Regions from separate parts of the Homo sapiens genome. Here region 2 is linked to region 1. Evidence: promoter capture Hi-C in 16 types of primary human blood cells and fetal thymus (Javierre and others, 2016). All regions are on one chromosome and are shown on one strand. Each heading gives the region's core, a stretch centred on a gene start or on the middle of the fragment in contact. The rest is flanking DNA. Distances are from core to core; before and after follow the strand shown. Region 1 holds the start of NEURL4 (neuralized E3 ubiquitin protein ligase 4). Region 2 holds the start of PER1 (period circadian regulator 1).

The links. The method cuts DNA at HindIII sites, captures the fragments that hold promoters and counts their contacts. A CHiCAGO score of 5 or more calls a contact.
Region 2: a fragment that was not itself captured here is called in contact with the fragment with the promoter of NEURL4 in region 1 in 1 of 17 cell types (activated CD4 T cells); the score reaches 5.3 in activated CD4 T cells.

Annotation. Positions count from the first base shown.
Region 1 is chr17:7,327,783-7,331,090 of GRCh38, forward strand. NEURL4 (neuralized E3 ubiquitin protein ligase 4) reads right to left here and starts at 1,553. Exons shown (of 29, transcript NM_032442.3): 1 at 1,249-1,553; 2 at 1-102. The coding sequence starts at 1,530. RefSeq lists enhancers at 826-1,485, 1,468-1,762, 1,698-1,877, 1,908-1,957, 2,838-2,987 and a silencer at 1,258-1,497. The HindIII fragment of the contact is 8,367 bases long and covers 1-3,308 here.
Region 2 is chr17:8,150,053-8,153,360 of GRCh38, forward strand. PER1 (period circadian regulator 1) reads right to left here and starts at 2,352. Exons shown (of 23, transcript NM_002616.3): 1 at 2,285-2,352; 2 at 380-793; 3 at 167-265; 4 at 1-73. The coding sequence starts at 654. RefSeq lists enhancers at 1-506, 976-1,085, 2,299-2,593 and a silencer at 1,246-1,345. The HindIII fragment of the contact is 3,689 bases long and covers 8-3,308 here.

The DNA of each region.
Region 1 (3,308 bases), core at 303-2,802:
CCACGAGCCCCCCTTCAGGCCCGTGGCACTGCTTGGAAAGTCCAGCACACTGGGGTCCAGCGCTGTCACCCCAATCTCAATGGAGCCGCTCCAGGAGTTGACCTGGGATAGGGGTATTGGACAGAGGCTTAGAATGGGCCACCCCCCATTCCACAGGCCACCATATCTTCCCACCTCTCAGACAGCTAGCTGGCTTTCTGTCTCTTGGAACACTAATCCAGAGATGCAGACAGTGATTTTCTGGACTCCGTCTTGGTAATTATTTGGGCTTTCCTTTAGCAACTCTGCTCTCTACTCAGTGTTTACTAAACCACTCCTTTCCAAGCCAAGCACAAATTCCTTGGTTCCAACCTCCTGCCTCCTCTAACTTTCCTTGTCTCTATGGCTCTCCAACCATCCAAATTCTCCTACTTCCTATACCCACACCTCTTGCTCTTGTGTATCATTCATTCCTTTCCCCTGGCCTAATTCTCTCCAAAGATCAGGCTCTACCCAGATTCAATCTCCTTCCAAGTTCTTTTTCTGTGAGCCTGGCCTCTTCACTGAATCACACACACCTCCCTCACCCTGGATCTTTCTCCTCACCTATCTTTCTGGCACAGCCTCTGTCCTTCAATGGTTTGTTCTGTTTTTTTGAGACGGAGTCTCACTCACTCTATTGCCCAGGCTGGAGTGCAATGGCATGATCTCAGCTCACTGCAACCTCTGCCTCCCGGGTTCAAGCCATTCTCCTGCCTCAGCCTCCAGAGTAGCTGGGATTACAGGCGCACGCCACCATGCCTGGCCAATTTTTGTATTTTTAGTAAAGACGGGGTTTCACCACGTTCACCAGGCTGGTCTCAAACCCCTGACTCTAGTGATCCGCCCGCCTCGGACTCCCAAAGTGCTGGGATTACGTTTGTTCGTTCCTTGGCATCTTTCTTCACTTGCCATCACATCTCTGACATCTCTCCATCCTCCATGCCCAAGAAATTGTACCAGGAGGTCTGTTCCCAGCCATTCTAGTGGGTTAGCCCTCGTGTCCCTTCCCTGGTTCTGGATCTTGAGAAAACTCAAGCTCTTAATGTCATCTTCAAACTCAATGTTTCTGCTTCATGCTGTCTTCCTGACCGCCCCCTGGTGCTCTATGGTCTTTCTGTTCCCTCTCGGTGCCCGGCAATGTGGGCTACCCTGGCTGTCCTACCCCGTCTCCCTCTAGACGCCTCCCACCACCCTCCACATCTCTGTTCCGCGGTACCAGCGCTGCACCTTGCGGTCGATGCGGACGGTGAAGACGCGTCCATCGCGCAAGGGTTCTCGGCTCAACACCAGCCCGTGGTTAAACTCCTGGCCCGGCTGCTGCCGCCGCGCCGTACGCCCACAGGCCGACAGGCTCACCAAGCGCCCAGTGCGCGGGTGCAGTTCCCCGCCGCTGCCCAGACCCCCGTTGGACCCCGGTCCTGAGCCGCTCCCGCTGGGGCCCCCACCCCCGCCCGGCCCCGGTCCAGGGCCTCCCCCAGAGCCCCCACTCCCACCCGACCCTGCCGCCATCTCCGCTGACACCGGGGCAGCGCGACAGCCGCGCTTGGCGGCACCGTGGCAACCGCGTCGGGCAGACAGTCCGAGGGATACGACCGGGGGGCTGAGGCCAGGTATGCTTTACGGCACTGCCGGGCAATGAAGCAGCCCGCGCTAGGAGCTGGGGACGACCACGATGAGAACAGAAGGACACGGGGTCGGGAGCCTCGCTTTACGGCATAGCGAGGTGACGGAGCGGCTCCGAGGGGGACGAAGACCTGGGCAGGGAGCTTTTGCGACAGTGGGAGAAAGACACGCCCACCGCAGGCATCTTTACGACGGTGGGGTGCTGGAGCCCAAACACTTTCTGCTTTGCGACAGCGGCACCGACGACCCCGCCCTCGCTAGGGGGCGGTGACACCTTGAAGCACTCGCTTTACGGCAAGAGGGGGTGTCTCCCCTCGGGATGCAGGCTCCAAAGCAGCGTGAGCCGAGTCTGGAGGACCCAGAGAAGCGGTAGTGAAAGTCTCTTCCCGCCACCCGACTGAGGACGAAGTGTCTTGCAACAGTGCGGCAGTCCTTCCACTTTGCCTCACACCTCTTCTGATTGGCTGAGCTAGCCGACTGGCGGGGGTGGGGGAAGCTCGCTGATAGTTCAAGTCAAGCCCAGCTTCAACTCCAACTCAACCAAACTATTCCATGTTAAGACCACAAAGAGTCTAAAGAAGTCCCGACAGGCCGTTTCAAGCGACAGCGTTGATGACCCCAAAAGATCTCCCTTAGAGCTATTAACAAGCCCCCTGCCCAACTCCCCGAAGCTCAAGCTCAGGCTGGAGGACCGTGAGGTCACAGTCGAAGCTCCTGGCCTGGCCCCCTGACTGGGATTGGCTGGTTTGGATGAGGGTGGTGATGGAGAAGGGCGGGAACAAATTGCCCAGACAAAGAAAATCTTTGGGTGGGACACAAAGGAAAGGGGCGAGCGGAGGGACCCCCAGCCCGAGTCTCTATATAGTCTTGATTCCGCCCGCCGCAGCTCTGGAGCAGGGGAGAAGTGGACCCGGGACTGAGCCCGAGCATCCCCGGCCGGCAGCGGTGGGGGCGGGGCCAGGGGCGGGGCTACGTGGAGCCGGGAGGCGGGTCAGGATCGCTGAGAGCAGCCCCCCAGTGGGGCCATGGAGAAGGTGGAGTCCCTAGGGGCTGCTGGCGGCCTCAACCGGGATTCCCCTGGAGGGGCAGCCAGAGGAGTGCCCGCAGCGGTCACAGGAGTCGAGGCAGGCGCTGGGCAGCCCTCCAGAGTAGTCTTGTTTCACGGTTCTGGGCCCCACGTGCACTCAGGGGGCTCCGTAACTCATAGTACTGGTTCAAGCTGTCCCTCCGGGGGGATAGTGGTCCTTGGTTCCGGGCCCAGTCAGCACCCAAGGGAGGCTGCGAACCACAGCCTTGGGTCTGGCAGGAACCCTGGTGGATTCAACATCCCCGGGCCTCGAACCAGTGTATCCAGGGCTTCCAGCCCCGGGCCTGGGGGACCTGCAGGGCAAGAGGTAAACAGCCCCGGGTGCAGTCCGCACTCTGGGCCAACTTGCTTGAACCCCCAAAACTCCCAACAGGACCGGCCCCGGAGCATCCTACGAAAGAACAGCTCCAACTTGATGCAGAAATCCCCCAATGTGGAGAAGTAAGGAGCCCAGCTCTGCGGGCAGCCAGCCCAGAGTCGGGAGGGTTCAGGACACCTGAGGGTGGGAGCCAGAAGGAAAGGGGCAGAGCCTTAAGAATGAAGAGTTAGAGTAGGTGAGGGCAATTGAGTGGGAAGT
Region 2 (3,308 bases), core at 602-3,101, 820 kb after region 1:
CAGTCGAAGCTTGAGCTCTCGAAGTGCTGTCATGAGTTCCTTCTGAGTCCTTGCCCGGGCTGACTGTTCACTGCTGCGGGGCCCACAGGGAAGAAAGAGATAAAGACATTAGTCCCAGAGTGTGGCCTGGGCCCCCAGACCTCTCCTCCAGCCTCACCCGACGTACCTGCAGCCACTGGTGGACGGGTTGTCCTGCTCTGAGCTGGCACTCAGGAGGCTGTAGGCAATGGAACTGCTGGGTGGGGATGGGCTCTGAGAGTTTGTGCTAGGAGACAGCAACAGGCCCAGTTACAGGTAGGGCCAGCAGTGCGAGGCCTGTCACCCAGCTCTGCCTGCTCACAAGACCATTCCTAGACCCAACATACACATCCATACACACCTCTTGCTGCTCTCAGTGGTCTCCAGCAGGGCTGAGTCCTTGCCGTTGCCTGAGGAGGAGCTGTGTGAGCTCCGCTGAGATGCGCCTCTAGACTCATGCCCGTTGGACTCATTGCCACTTGAACCATTGCTGTTGGCATCGGTGTCATCGGCCAGGCTGGGGCCTGGGCAAGGCCGGTGCTGTGGGGGCCCAGGGGATGGGACGCCCCCAGGACAAAATGATTCCCCAGGCCTGGGGTCCCCTCCCCCATCAGCCCCTTCTAGGGGGCCACTCATGTCTGGGCCATGGGGAGAACAGAACAGAGAAGGCAGAGAGGCCACCACGGATGCACGAGGGGGCCTGGAGGCTTGGCTGAGGGAGTGAGGTGGAAGATCTAAGTCTCTGAGGGTTGAGAAGTTCGATCACAGCCAGTACCTGGAGAGGGAGACCAGGAAGCAGGGCTTGCAGAAAGCTGGTTTAACTCCAGAGCACCTGCTGGCTTCACTCAGACCTTCCCCCTGCCTGGCCTCCTGCAGGACTGATGGGAGTGGAACCCAGGCCTGGGGCTTCCAATGGGGAGTCAGGATGTCTCCTGTACCCTTAGGGGGACTGCCAGCGGGAGAAGGTTCTCCGGGGCCTTCCTTCACATCCCCTGCCACCATGGCCTGAGCAGTCAATGAGAACCACGGCTGTAGACAAAAACCTGGACACTTCCCATTCCCAAGTTCCCATTAGGTGTCCACTCTGCCTGGGCCTCCAAGGCCTCGGAGCAGGAGGTGAGCTGGTCGCCTCCTATATTTAGGCCTCCAGGCTAATTTTATCCGGGGGCGGTGCCACCCCCGCTGCACATGCGCGCCGACGTGCGCGGCCCCACCACGCGCTTCCGCCGCCGCCACGGTCGCCAGGGAAACCGACGTCAGCTGCTGAGCTCAGCGGTTGCTGGAGGGACCACAGGAGGGCGGGAGGAGCGACCCCTCCCCCATTTCCCGGCGGAAGTGGGGGAACGGCCCACTCTCACACTGGTGGGCGCGGCCGGGGGGGTCACGCATCCCTTACATATCCCCAGTCCCAGGATGGCTCGGTGGCCGTAAGAAGTGGGACGGCCTATTAGGATCCCAGGGTTGGTCCTGGCTTCCCCAGGACGAAGCACAACGGCCACTGCCCTCGGCGCAAAAGCCCCTCAACCTGACTCTCGCCTGGATCCCAGTCATTCTGGTCAAGACAACACAACCTTTCCTTCTTTAGCCCCTGCGCTGCTTCCCCACCACAAGGACCGAAGCCGGCAACCTGCCATCGTCAAGGACCCGAGGATCCTCTCTCTTCAGTCCCCTACTTTTCTGGCCAGACCCCCCCACCAACCCCAAGCCTTGGGCAGAAGACACACAACAGCCAACAGATCTTTCTTCCCCTACTCCCCGTCCAACCACACCCCTACTACTGAGCATTTTCTGAGCGCCAGGGGAAAAGGGAAGGTTGTGGCCAACAGCAGGAACCAGCGCTGGGAACGGGATGTTCTAGTCCGAAGTGGGCTGACATCACAGGCGGCGCAGGGCCAGGGACTGGAGAACAGAGACACGGGGAGCGCTGAAAGCCTAATAGGGTCCTGGTACCGGGGCAAACCTGGGGCCCCTCGAGTAACGAGCAAGAAGACCGGGGCATGCCCGCTGAGAGTCGGCTGTGGGGCCGGGAAAGCTGGGACGGGGAGGTGGGGACAAGCTGGAGGTAAGATGAGTGGGTCAGGAGTGCAGACTCCCGGTGCAAGATTTCGAGGAGGACTTCGGTCCTTGGGGGCAGGGAGAGGGTGGGTAGCGGTAAGGACGACAGTGTGCCCTCTGCCTGGGCCGAAAGTAGCCCATCAGATTGGAAGTGGCAGCGGTCCGGCTCAGGGACGGAGATCGGCCCCAGGATGGCCGCAGAGATGCCTACCTGGTCGCAGGAGTGTCCTCCGCACGCCTGCCCGCCGCCGCTCCAGCCCGCAGCCGAGTGGAAGCTCCACCGGGCGGGCGGGGAGGCGGGTTGCATAATGCCGGGCACTGCCCCCTCATTGGCCTCTTGCCGACGGAGCCGCAGGCCCCGCCCCCGATTGGCTGGGGATCTCTTCCCGGCGCCTGATTGGCTAGTGGTCTCCACTAAGGTCAGGGCTGTGTCACACACACGGGCGCACGTGGACCTGGGTGCTGGTGCTGGGCTGAAGAGCCCCAGACACCGCCCAGCCAATGGGCGCAGGACGCTTGCACATTGAATAATGGAAGGGAGGAGAGAGGGAGATACGCTGCGCCTCTTTAGGGAAAAAGCCCGGCCCGGGGTAGGTGCTCAAGACTTGTCTACTTCCTGAACGCACTAGCCTTGCAGAACACAACATCTTGGCATCTTCGCCTTTCCAAGGGTGAGGAAAAGGAATGGCGCTGCAAGTTAGGCCACGCTGGATGAGATGGGTGGTCCTTGAGAGGAGGGGAGAGACAGAAACCTGCCTGGGCCTCTCCTGGGTTCCTTTCCCAACCTTGTTCCCTCCCAACCTTCGTTCTACATAATGAAGCCCTTTAACCGAAGCACTTCCTCTGACACTTCAAATCCTGGGAGAGGACAGTTAAGGGTCCACGTGTGACCGGTGGGTGAGTGGGTGGAGGAAGGATGCGGACAATGGAAGGGGCAACCAGAGCCAATAGTGGCTGTGAAGGGAAACAATGGCAGGTGCTTCTATGGCCACTCAGAGACAAGGTCTCCGGGCAGCCTACGTGGTGTCTAGTACTTTCCTCCAGAGGACGCAGCCACCCACAGTTAAAGCTGCCCCAAAAGTGGGGGCCAGGAAGCCAGGACTACAGAGGGACCAAGGGGATGGCCCAGAGAAGAGGCCAGCTGGGGCCCTAGACAGAGAAATGTGGGGTGGCAAGGGCTTCATATTTCCACTGCTTGGAAAAGAGAAAGCCAAACTCCAGGGGCCCAGACGGAA